Regions from separate parts of the Homo sapiens genome. Here region 2 is linked to region 1. Evidence: promoter capture Hi-C in human tissues and cell types (Jung and others, 2019). All regions are on one chromosome and are shown on one strand. Each heading gives the region's core, a stretch centred on a gene start or on the middle of the fragment in contact. The rest is flanking DNA. Distances are from core to core; before and after follow the strand shown.

Region 1 (4,949 bases), core at 2,325-4,824:
GCCAAATCAGCTATTCTGAAAGGCCCCTTTAATCTCTATGAGCCCCAGACTTTCAAACTGTAAGGACCTTAGGACTGTAACTAAAGTTCTACAGAGCCTAAACCCCTCAGCTAAAGAGCCTATTGTTGGAAAGTTCTGAGTCCAAGATTCTATCTTTGGAACATTCTAGAATTCTCCAATTTGTCTAACCCAGAATTCTGAGTCTTTCTGTACCACATTCTACCTAACCCAGGGTTGCACTGCTCTGGAAGTCTAGATGGATGGTATAGTGCAGCTGGTAAAAGCATGAGTAAGAAGTCAGACTTCAAAAATTCAAATCTGAGGGCCGGGCATGGTAGCTTCTGCCTGTAATCCTTGCACTTTGGGAGGCCGAGGGGGGAGGATCACTTGAGGCCAGGAGTTCAAGACCAACATGGCCAACACAATGAGACCCCATTTCTTAAAAAAAATTAAAATAAAATCATCAAATCTGGCAGCACCACCGTCCAACCCTGACCACAGTACCTCAGTCTCGTAATCCGTAAAATGGGGATGAAAGTTCACCTCATAGGACTACTGTAAGAATCCACCTGGTCAGAAGGTGCAGGAAGAATTCAGAGCTCTGAGAATTGAGGCCTCAGGAAGAAGAGACTACAGGAATAAAAACTCGGGCATTTAGAATTTCAGAGATACACAAACAATACTTTGTTAACTGTTAAAATAGATAAATGAGCAAGTCTGTGCAGCCCTAATGCCAGCTGTAAGTGACTCTTTTTTTTTCTTTTGGTAGAGATTTAGTCTCTCTCGCGCCTGTGGTTAGGCTGGTCTCGAACTCCTAGCCTCATGGGATCCTCCCCGGCTCGATCTCCCAAAGTATTGGGATTACAGGCGTGAGCCACGGCGCCATGATCCCCAAATTTCCAAGATTCTCAGATTCCATACTGACATTCTCTGGCTCTCAGGAAATGCCAACCCTGGGTGTGGGGCTGTCGCGGGGACAGGCGGTGGGGACGTCGGAGCCACCAGGGGGCGGTCACGCCCGGACCCCCGCCAGGAGGGCGGACTGCGCCTGAGCTCAGGCCCGGGGAATGCGCAGCGGGCCCGGGCAGGTGCTGTACATCCCGGGGCAAGGGAGCTGGGCCGGGCGGGGTACAAGGGCGGGGCGCGGGGGTGGCGCGGGCCGTGTGTCTGTTCCCAGGCCTCTGCCCCTGACCTCTGCCTCCGAGTCCTCTCCCATGTGCTCCCCTCTAGCTCTAGCTCCGAGCTCTCCCGCGGGCTCTGGGCCAGCCGCAGGTACTCTCCCCTGGGCTCCTCTCTCCGCTCCACCCCTGGCTCTCCTTCCCTGGCCTCCTCTGCACCCCAGCCAGGTTCTTTAGGGCTAAGGATCCTGTGGACTTCCTGGAGGAGTCATCTTCAGTAGGAACCGGGTCAGAGAGCCAGACTGAGCTGGGAACACCCAGGCTGGACTCCTACAGCCCTGTCGGGTCACACTGAATCTGGAGAGGCTCCACTGTCTCTGGGACTCGGTTTCCTCCTTTGTGGACGTCTATGGAATGGGCTAGGGCCTTTCTTGCTCTAAGCCTCTACTTGGGCTTGTTATTTAGCTTCTCTGTGCCTGTTTCCTCATGTGGACCATGGGAAGAATTAATACCTTCGCCTCAAAGGGGTATGAGGATTGAGTGACATAATTTATAAGCCGTGATTAGAACAATGCAGTGCGCGAAATAAAGTTCACACATACAGGATTCATAATTACCAGATGTCCTTGGCTGTTCATTATAATAACACAGGGTCTGGCAACAGAGTGAGGGGTCCAGACTCAATGTAATTTTTTTTTCCCCTAAAAGGGCCCTTTCAACTCTTTCTGAGATCATACAAGCCCTGAGTTTTGACACCCAGGGTCTCAACTTCCTGAGCCCTTGCCTCTCAGAGTCCTAAATTTCCCCTGTACATTCCTGAGTCTGGCCAGTGATCACCCTCAGTCACTTAGGGACGGGAGGGCTGGGAGAGCCCTGGAAGATTCCAGACAGAAGCTGGCAAAAGCCCAGGGTGTGGGCAATATCCACTCTCCAGCCTCCGTTTCTCCACTCGTAATGAGGAGTCCTTCCCTGGGGTCAGCAAACCTTATTCAAAGGGAGACCTCTCAGTCACCCAAGATTCCTCTAGACAATGCGAGCTTTCCTACCTACCTACCTACCAGCTCTGAGCTTGGTACACCCAGAGCCCTGTTTTGGCAACCACGGTTATTATTTTTAATTTCATTTCAGGTTATCATCAAATGCCCTTCAAGCCCAGACATTGGGAAACACTCCTCTCTCATCAGATGCTCGCCTCCCCCATTCTGTTTTTAATCCCCCTTCTTAGGACGCATGGGGGTGGAGAGAACGGGGAGATAGACAGAGGGAGGTGCCTGGTCCTGCCCTCCCCCCGCCTCAAGGACAGACAGACACCTCCAGAATTAGCCTCTGTCCCTCCCTTATCTCCCACAATACCCCAGGTCAGACAGATGGGCGTGGAGGTGACATTTCTCACCTCAGGGTCAGGGCAAGGAGCCCTGAGGCAGAAGGTTAGTCAGAAAATCTGGCGGGGGCGGATGGAATCCCGTCCCCCAGAGAGCTGCAGAAGAAGGAGGAGGCAGAATCCTGACCCTACAAACTCTACTGCCTGTGTGAGCTCCAAGCCTCAGTTTACCCCTTCCTCTCCGTGTAATGGTTAAATGCCCGGCTATGCAAACCTCCCAGAATCCAATAGCCGCTTTCCGGAATTCTGCCCTGGGTTCTAGAACTACCTCTGCAAACCCAGCTGTTTCCCACCCCATAAGGCAATAGGGGAGCCCACCTCCGCCAGGGGGTGCCCTAGGGCGGATGTCCCTTCTCTGGTTAGGCAGGTCTGACGCCCAGGTTAATGACATGTTGGGTTCGCTCAGCGGCACAGAGGAGGTTGGAGATCTGCCTCGGTGTTTTCTCTCCTACCCCGCCCCCATCCCCGAGCCGAAAAGTCGGGGGAGAGCCGGGACACAGCCTCCGGAGGGACCCCGGGTACCTGTCCTGCTCCACTTCAGGAACCCAGGCTCCACTATCCCTGCCCCACCCTTAATTCTGCTCAGAGACCTAGAAGATCGGTCGAGACAGCAGCTTGAGGCTGGCAGGGTGGTCACCCATTCCACCTTGAGCCCCACCAGTCTGAGCCTCTCATTTCTGACCAAGACTCGGGGATTCGAACCCCTATACTACCCAAAGACTCGGCTTCCTAGAGCCCCCCAGTTCGAGGGACTCAGGAATTCCAGCTCCAACGTCTCCCCGGGATGAAGGGGTAGAATCCCTCCATTCCAAGAATTCAGGCATCCGAACCCGCTTTCCTTCCCTCCAGTAAAACAGGCAACGGAGTTTCCTTCTAAGGATCCAGGTGTCGGCGCGCCCCAAATTCCGCCCTGGGACCTGGCGTCCGAGTCCCCTCCCAATCCTCCCAGGGACGCGGGTGTTGGGCTTTTTCAGGGCCTCTGGTCCCCAGGAGGGTGAAACTCACGGATCCGGGCAGATCCTGGCACCTGGGGGCTTCCTCCAGCTCGGGCTCCGGCTTGGGGAGCGGAGAACGGGGCGGGGCAGGAGCTGGGAACAGGTTAGACGACGTGACTTGGGCTGGAGGGAGGCGGGTCCCGGTGGGGAGGGGGAGCCAAGGTCGCCTCGAGCACCTTGGGACTTGTAGTCCCGGAGGGACAGGACGTAGCCCAAGACGATCCCATTTGGATTCACCCAGAGTCCATTTCACAGACAGGAAGGGCGAGGCCCAGAAGCCGAGAGCGACCAGGCCAGGGAGATACAGAAGAGCCGAGACGCCTGCCTCGCTGTGGCTGGAGACTGACTCCTGAGCCCTTGCCCCACCCCTTCAGGCGCACTATCCCCTTTCCTGATCAGTATCCCCCAGGGTCTCTGAGCCCGAATCTCCCCGTCGATAAAAAGCGCGGGTTGGATCTTCAAAGGATGTCCCAGCAAGAGTTCAAAATCTTAGTTTGGACTACAACCCCCAGCAGCCTCCGCGACCGCCCTCGGGCGACTCTTTGCCTCGGGTCCTGTGGGAATTGTAGTCCTGGAGCCCGCAGGGGCTGCACCCCGGTGTCTCTCTCGCCCACGCGAAGGAAACCGTCTGGAGATCCTGGATAGGGGAAACATTTCCCCTTCCCCTTGACCCTCCCTCCGCTCTGGAAAGCCTCTCCCACCTGGGGAGAAGGGGTGCCCCAATTCTGGAGTAGGATCCTAAATCTTGGCAGAGGGGGCGGGAAGTGGCGCTGACACACTGGCCAGGAATGCAGTCGGGTCACCCTGTCTAGCCACCGTCTCGCGGCTCCAACCGCCGCCCAACGCGGGGCGGCCCCAGTGGGAAGGGAAGTGGGTGCGTCCCCCAAATCTGTGTCCACGTGCCGCTGTTTACACGCTCCCTGGGGCAGGGAGGAGTCGCCGATCAGGTCCCTTCCTGAAAGTCATCGAGGTTTCCCACGCATGAGACTAAACCCCCGAGGGCATCTACAAGTCCCATTTGATCCACAAACGCTACACCGTGCCCAGCACCACTCCACGCGTGTGGGGCTCCTGGGTCCGAGGCTCCGCCCTCGAGAACCACAAGCTCCTCCCCCTATGTTTCCCGCTCCCCCGGAGTCCAGAAGCCCCGCCCCTGGCTGGAACTTCACGCCCTCCGGACGGATTGCCCCTATTTCTCCATTTTCCCGCTTCTCCCAGTCAAGTTCTGAACTTGTGAGGCATCTGGGCCTCCCCAGAAGACATTTAACACAGAAAGCACAGCCCTACTAACTAGTATTCTTACCTGTCTCTTCAAGAATTTCAGACCAATCGACCGTCCTGTCTCTTTAAGGCTTAGGAAGAGCAGTGTGGCTGCCCCTTTAAGGAGGCGTTGCAACAAACCATATTGGACAGACGATGGGGGCGACCCATCGGGACCCGACGGGCCTCTGACTC
Region 2 (5,208 bases), core at 1,436-3,935, 430 kb before region 1:
GTAGGCTAATTTCCTTTCTTAGAACTAGGCAGCATCAAACATCAGTTCGGGTGGGTGCTCGGAGACCATCTTGGCTGCAGTTCTTAAAATGGGATCCAGGGTTTGTTTTCAGGGGCCCATGAACTCCTTGTAGCTTGAAGCTGATTATGTGGGAATAGCCTTTCTAGATAGCGGGTGGCGTCTGTGTTTTTGAGCACATGTGGTTACCTGGAGTGGGAGGTGGAGCAGGAACTGGGTATATAAAGGAATGGGGTGGGAGGGAGAGTTTTGATTATACGTCTTTTCATATATTTAAAAATGTTCTGAACCTGTGACTGTAGAATACCTATTTGGGTGGGAGAAAGGATTTAATGTCTGTTTTCTTTGCTTACTCAAGTACATCAGGAAGCATTAGAAAGGTCCAGTCTCCTGCAGGCCTGGGTGCATGGATGAGGGGCCATGGCCATGAGCCCTCTGAGAGGGTCCACAGAACTGTGGGCGTGTGGATACACACAGGACGTTCTTCAGGGGACTGGGGATCTGGAATCCAAAAAGGCCTGGCCTTGTTTTATACATGGGGATCTAGAAGCCCAGAGGGGTTAGGACCCCCACAGCCACACACTAAGCCAGGGGCAGAGCTGCCTGGGGGCATCACTGCTTCTACACTCTCCCCTGGTGTGTTTACTAAAATGAGAGCCTCTGCTGGAGGCATCGGTATCCCCAGAGATTGCCAGGTCCAGACCTTCCCCAGACGTGCATATCAGGGACTTCATGGGGAGGTAGCGATGGCTCAGCTGGACCGTGGCCCCTAAGACCCTGGACCCCAGGGCCTTGTGGCTTCTACAGGCAGAGGCAAGTTCCTGTGCCTGATCCTGCCCCTGATCAGGGCTCAGCAGGGAGGCACCCCACCCACACTAGAATTTACTCATAGTGTTTTTCTGCTCCAAAGTTTTTTGTATGCCTTTTTCCTATGATTAAAATAACAGTAATAGCTAACACTTCTCAGTCACTTACTGGGTATGCACCAGGCTCCATTCTGAGGTACGTGTGCGTGTGTCAGATGTATATACACGCTATATAAACATATATATAATTTAATGTGTTTAATGCTTATAAACTACCCTATGAGAGTAGGCACTGTTATTATCCCCATTTCAACCATTGAAGTTGACCACTGAGGTCACAGTAAGTAGCAGAGCTGGGCTTCAGATGAAGATACTGTAGTTTAGAGGCTGGGCTCATAACCTCTTCTGCTGTATGGTTATCATACCTATAATTAATAAGTACTTGAATCATTTAATCACATGGCTGCATGCAGCTGAGAAACCTCCATTAACACAGTACAGGTTCATTTCTCTCTGATATACCAGTCTGGATGGAGGCAGACTAGGATTCTGCAGTCTTCAGTGACCCAGACTCCTTGCTGTTTGTTGTGCCATTGCTAGGTTTTTCCCTTTATCCTCATAGCCCAAGACAGCTGCTGAAGATTCAGCCATCACATCCACACTCCAGGCAACAGGAGAGAAGAATAAATCAAGAAGGAATATTTCTTCTCTTTAAGGACACTTTTTTTTTTTTTTTTTTGAGATGGAGTCTTACTCTGTCACCCAGACTGGAGTCCAGTGGCATGATCTCGGCTCACTGCGACCTCCACCTCCCAGGTTCAAGCGATTCTTTTGCCTCCGCCTACCAAGTAGCTGGGATTACAGGCGCCCGCCACCACGCCCGGCTAATTTTTGTATTTTTAGTAGAGATGGGGTTTCACCATGTTGGCCAGGTTGGTCTCGAACTCCTGACCTCAAGTGTTGGCTTCCCAAAGTGCTGGGATTATAGGTGTAAGCCACCACGCCCAGCCTCGTTTTGGTTTTGGTATCTGTTGTTGCTGCTGATTCTCGCTCATAATGTCGTTTCCTTTTGTGCCTGGCTTATCTCTGTCTGTGTCCTAGTCATTATACTTGAAAAGTTATTTGTAGGAATTTCAGGGCTAGGATGAGCATATTTTCCTACAGAGAGGATTGCCTTTGCTTCTGCCTGGGGGCATTACCAAGTCCTAGGTTTCCTTGCACCAGGTTCAGGGCTTGAGCTGCCCTTCGTGACTCCTTATCCCACGAGTGGCCTTGCATACTTCGCCCTGCATACCTGTTGTGCAACTCCTGGGAATGGGTAGGCCACCTGGTTCCTTCCTTCTCAGGGGTGGAGGCTTGCACCTTGTGGGGTCTTAGTTTCCTATAGGGTAGGTCTCTGGTTACCTCATATGTTGTATGTGCCCTGGGCTAGCATTTTTTTTTTTTTTTTTGAGACAGGGTCTCACTCTGTTGCCCAGGCTGGAGTGCAGTGGCATGATCGTGGTTCACTGCAGCCTCGACCTCCTGGGCTCAGGTGATTCTCCCACCTCAGCCTCCTGAGTAGCTGGGAATATAGGCATGGTGCGTGCTGCCATGCCTGGCTAATTTTTGTATTTTTTGTAGAAACTGTGTGTTGCCCAGGCTGGTCTCAAACTCCTGGGCTCAAGCAATCCACCTACCTCAGCCTCCCAGCGTGCTGGGGTTACAGGTGTGAGCCACCGCGCCCAGCCTAGGCCAGCATTTTTGTCACCCACCAAAACACCTAGCAGATGTCCTCGGACACATGAAGAAGCTTATAGGGCTCCTTTACTTATTCTTTTTTTTTTTTTCCCCTAGACCTGCAAATCCAAGATCCTTTACTTCTTTTTTTTTTTTTCCTTGAGATGGACTTTTTGCTCTTGTTGCCCAGGCTGGAGTGCCATGGCACGATCTCGGTTCACTGCAACCTCCTTCTCCTGGGTTCAAGCGATTCTCCTGCCCCAGCTTCCCGAATAGCTGGGATTACAGGCATGCACCACCACTCCTGGCTAATTTTTGTATTTTTAGTAGAGATGGGGTTTCACCATGTTGGCCAGGCTGGTCTTGAACTCCTGACCTCAGGTGATCCACCCACCTCGGCCTCCCAAAGTGCTGGGATTACAGGCTTGAGCCACCGCGCCCGGCCGATCCTTTACTACTTTAGGATTCCCACTTTCCCTTCAGTTTTTGCCTGAAGGTTTGGTAACCTACAGTCGTGTCCATTCTTCAGAGCTGTCTATTTATATATATTCATATGTAAACTTGATAAAAATTACATGCATGAGAACAAATACGAGAATACGTGAGCAGCATATATTCTCATTCTATCAATATGTATAATTACAAATATAAAATATATTGATATTTTCTTAGTGTATTAATTTTATCAAGCTTTTCCAATTTTTTCCAGTGAGAGGGTTGGTCTGAATAATTAAGCCCACTGTTACTAAAATTGGAACTAACGTATCACTTACTATCTGCTTCTCCAAAAATTCTCCAAAAGTTCAGAAATGTTGCTCTTTCTAAGCTTCTGTGCCTTCGGTTCTTTTCCTTTTCTTTTTTAAAAAATTTAATTAATTAATTGATTAATTTTTTTGGGACAAGCTCTCTATCTCCCAGGCTGGAGTGCAGTGGCGCAATCACGTCTCACTGCAGCCTTGACCGTCAGGGCTCAAGTGACTCTCTCACCTCAGTCCCCCAAGTAGCTGGGACTACAGGCATGGGCCACCATGCCCAGCTAATTTTTATATTTTTTGTAGAGACGGGATTTCATCATGTTGCCCAGGCTGGTCTCAAACTTTTGAGCTCAAGCAATCCGCCTGCCTCAGCTTCCCAAAGTGCTGGGATTACAAGCATGAGCTGCTACACCTGACCCAATTATACTTTTTTTTTTTTTTTTTTTTTTGAGATGGAGTCTCACTCTGTTGCAAGGCTGGAGGGCAGTGGCGCAATCTCGGCTCACTGCAACCTACGCCTCCCGGGTTCAAGTGATTCTCCTGCCTCAGCCTCCCAAGTAGATGGGACTAGAGGCACGCACCACCAGGCCCAGTTAATTTTTGTATTTTTAGTAGAGACAGGGTTTCACCATGTTGGCCACGATGATCTCGATTTCTTGACCTCGTGATTTGCCCACTTCAGCCTCCCAAAGTTACAGGCATGAGCCACTGTGCCTGGCCTCTATACTTCTTAAGTTATTTTAAAATGTGTAATTAAATTACTATTGACTAGAGTTGCCGTGTTTTGCTACCAAATACTAGATCTCATTCATTCTTTTTTTTTTTGAGATGGAGTCTCGCTCTGTTGCCCAGGCTGGAGTGCAGTGGCGCGATCTTGGCTCACTGCAACCTCTGCCTCCTGGGTTCACACCATTCTCCTGCCTCAGCCTCCGGAGTAGCTGGGACTACAGGCGCCCGCCACCATGCCCAGCTAATTTTTTTGTATTTTTTAGTAGAGACAGGGTTTCACCATGTTAGCCAGGATGGTCTCAATCTCCTGACCTCGTGATCCGCCCGCCTTGGCCTCCCAAAGTGCTGGGATTACAGGCATGAGCCGCCGCGCCCGTCCTCGTTCATTCTATTTTTTGTAGCCATTAACCATCCCCGGTTCTGTGCTTTTGAAGCGCTAGGATTCCAGATTCTTTCTTTTAAAAATTTTATGTTTATTATTTTTTCTTTATTTCTTTTTTCTTTTAATTCATCCATCTGCACACTGAAGGGGTTCCAGATTCTTAGTCTCCTCTCGGGGGATCCCAGGGGGCTGGATGGCAGGTTTCCCAGTCTGAGTCAAGAGTCAGCCCCTGCAGCCCTGTGGTCACCAGGAGCTCCTGCAGGATTTAGAGTCAAGGGTCTGCATGCAGACCAGGGCAGTGCCAGCTACCCCCACACACTGGCAAACGGTGGCATCTGGGCTCCCTCCCCAGATGTGGTCTTTAGGGACATCTTATCTCCTTGCCAGCCCTGTGACTACCTTCTCAGGGCCTCCCTGACTTGGTCACTAGCCCCAGGTCAGGCGCCAGCATGTGCTAAGTCAGAAGGAAGTCAGGCGGGTCTATGGCGGAGAGCCAAGGCTTGGGGACTCACCACCTTGCTGCTTCTCTCCTCAGGATCTTCATCATCTGGGCCATCAGCAGTTGGTTCCGCCGAGGGCCGGCCCCTCAGGACCAGGCGGGCCCCGGAGGAGCTCCACGCGTCGCCAGCCGCAACCTGTTCCCCAAAGACACTTTAATGGTAACTGCCGGGTGGTAGGGCAGACTTGGGAGGTGATGGGGTGTGGAGGGGTGGAATGTGGAGGAGTGATGTCAGCAGTCGGGACAGACCAGGTCCTTGCTCACTGGCAGGTCTAGGAAAACAGGTCCAGGGTTGAGGAA

What was found. The method cuts DNA at HindIII sites, captures the fragments that hold promoters and counts their contacts. A contact is called where the count stands out against the background at its distance.
Region 2: a fragment that was not itself captured here is called in contact with the fragment with the promoter of PPP1R13L in region 1 in 2 of the 25 tissues and cell types used here (IMR-90 fibroblasts and dorsolateral prefrontal cortex).

What each region holds. Positions count from the first base shown.
Region 1 is chr19:45,401,495-45,406,443 of GRCh38, forward strand. PPP1R13L (protein phosphatase 1 regulatory subunit 13 like) reads right to left here and starts at 3,575. Exons shown (of 13, transcript NM_006663.4): 1 at 3,505-3,575. RefSeq lists silencers at 922-1,171, 1,212-1,301 and enhancers at 3,461-4,256, 4,227-4,426. The HindIII fragment of the contact is 18,212 bases long and covers 1-4,949 here.
Region 2 is chr19:44,968,143-44,973,350 of GRCh38, forward strand. CLPTM1 (CLPTM1 regulator of GABA type A receptor forward trafficking) reads left to right here. Exons shown (of 14, transcript NM_001294.4): 3 at 4,945-5,068. Among named protein-coding and RNA genes, the nearest start is that of CLPTM1, 15 kb to the left of the region's middle. The HindIII fragment of the contact is 6,156 bases long and covers 1-5,208 here.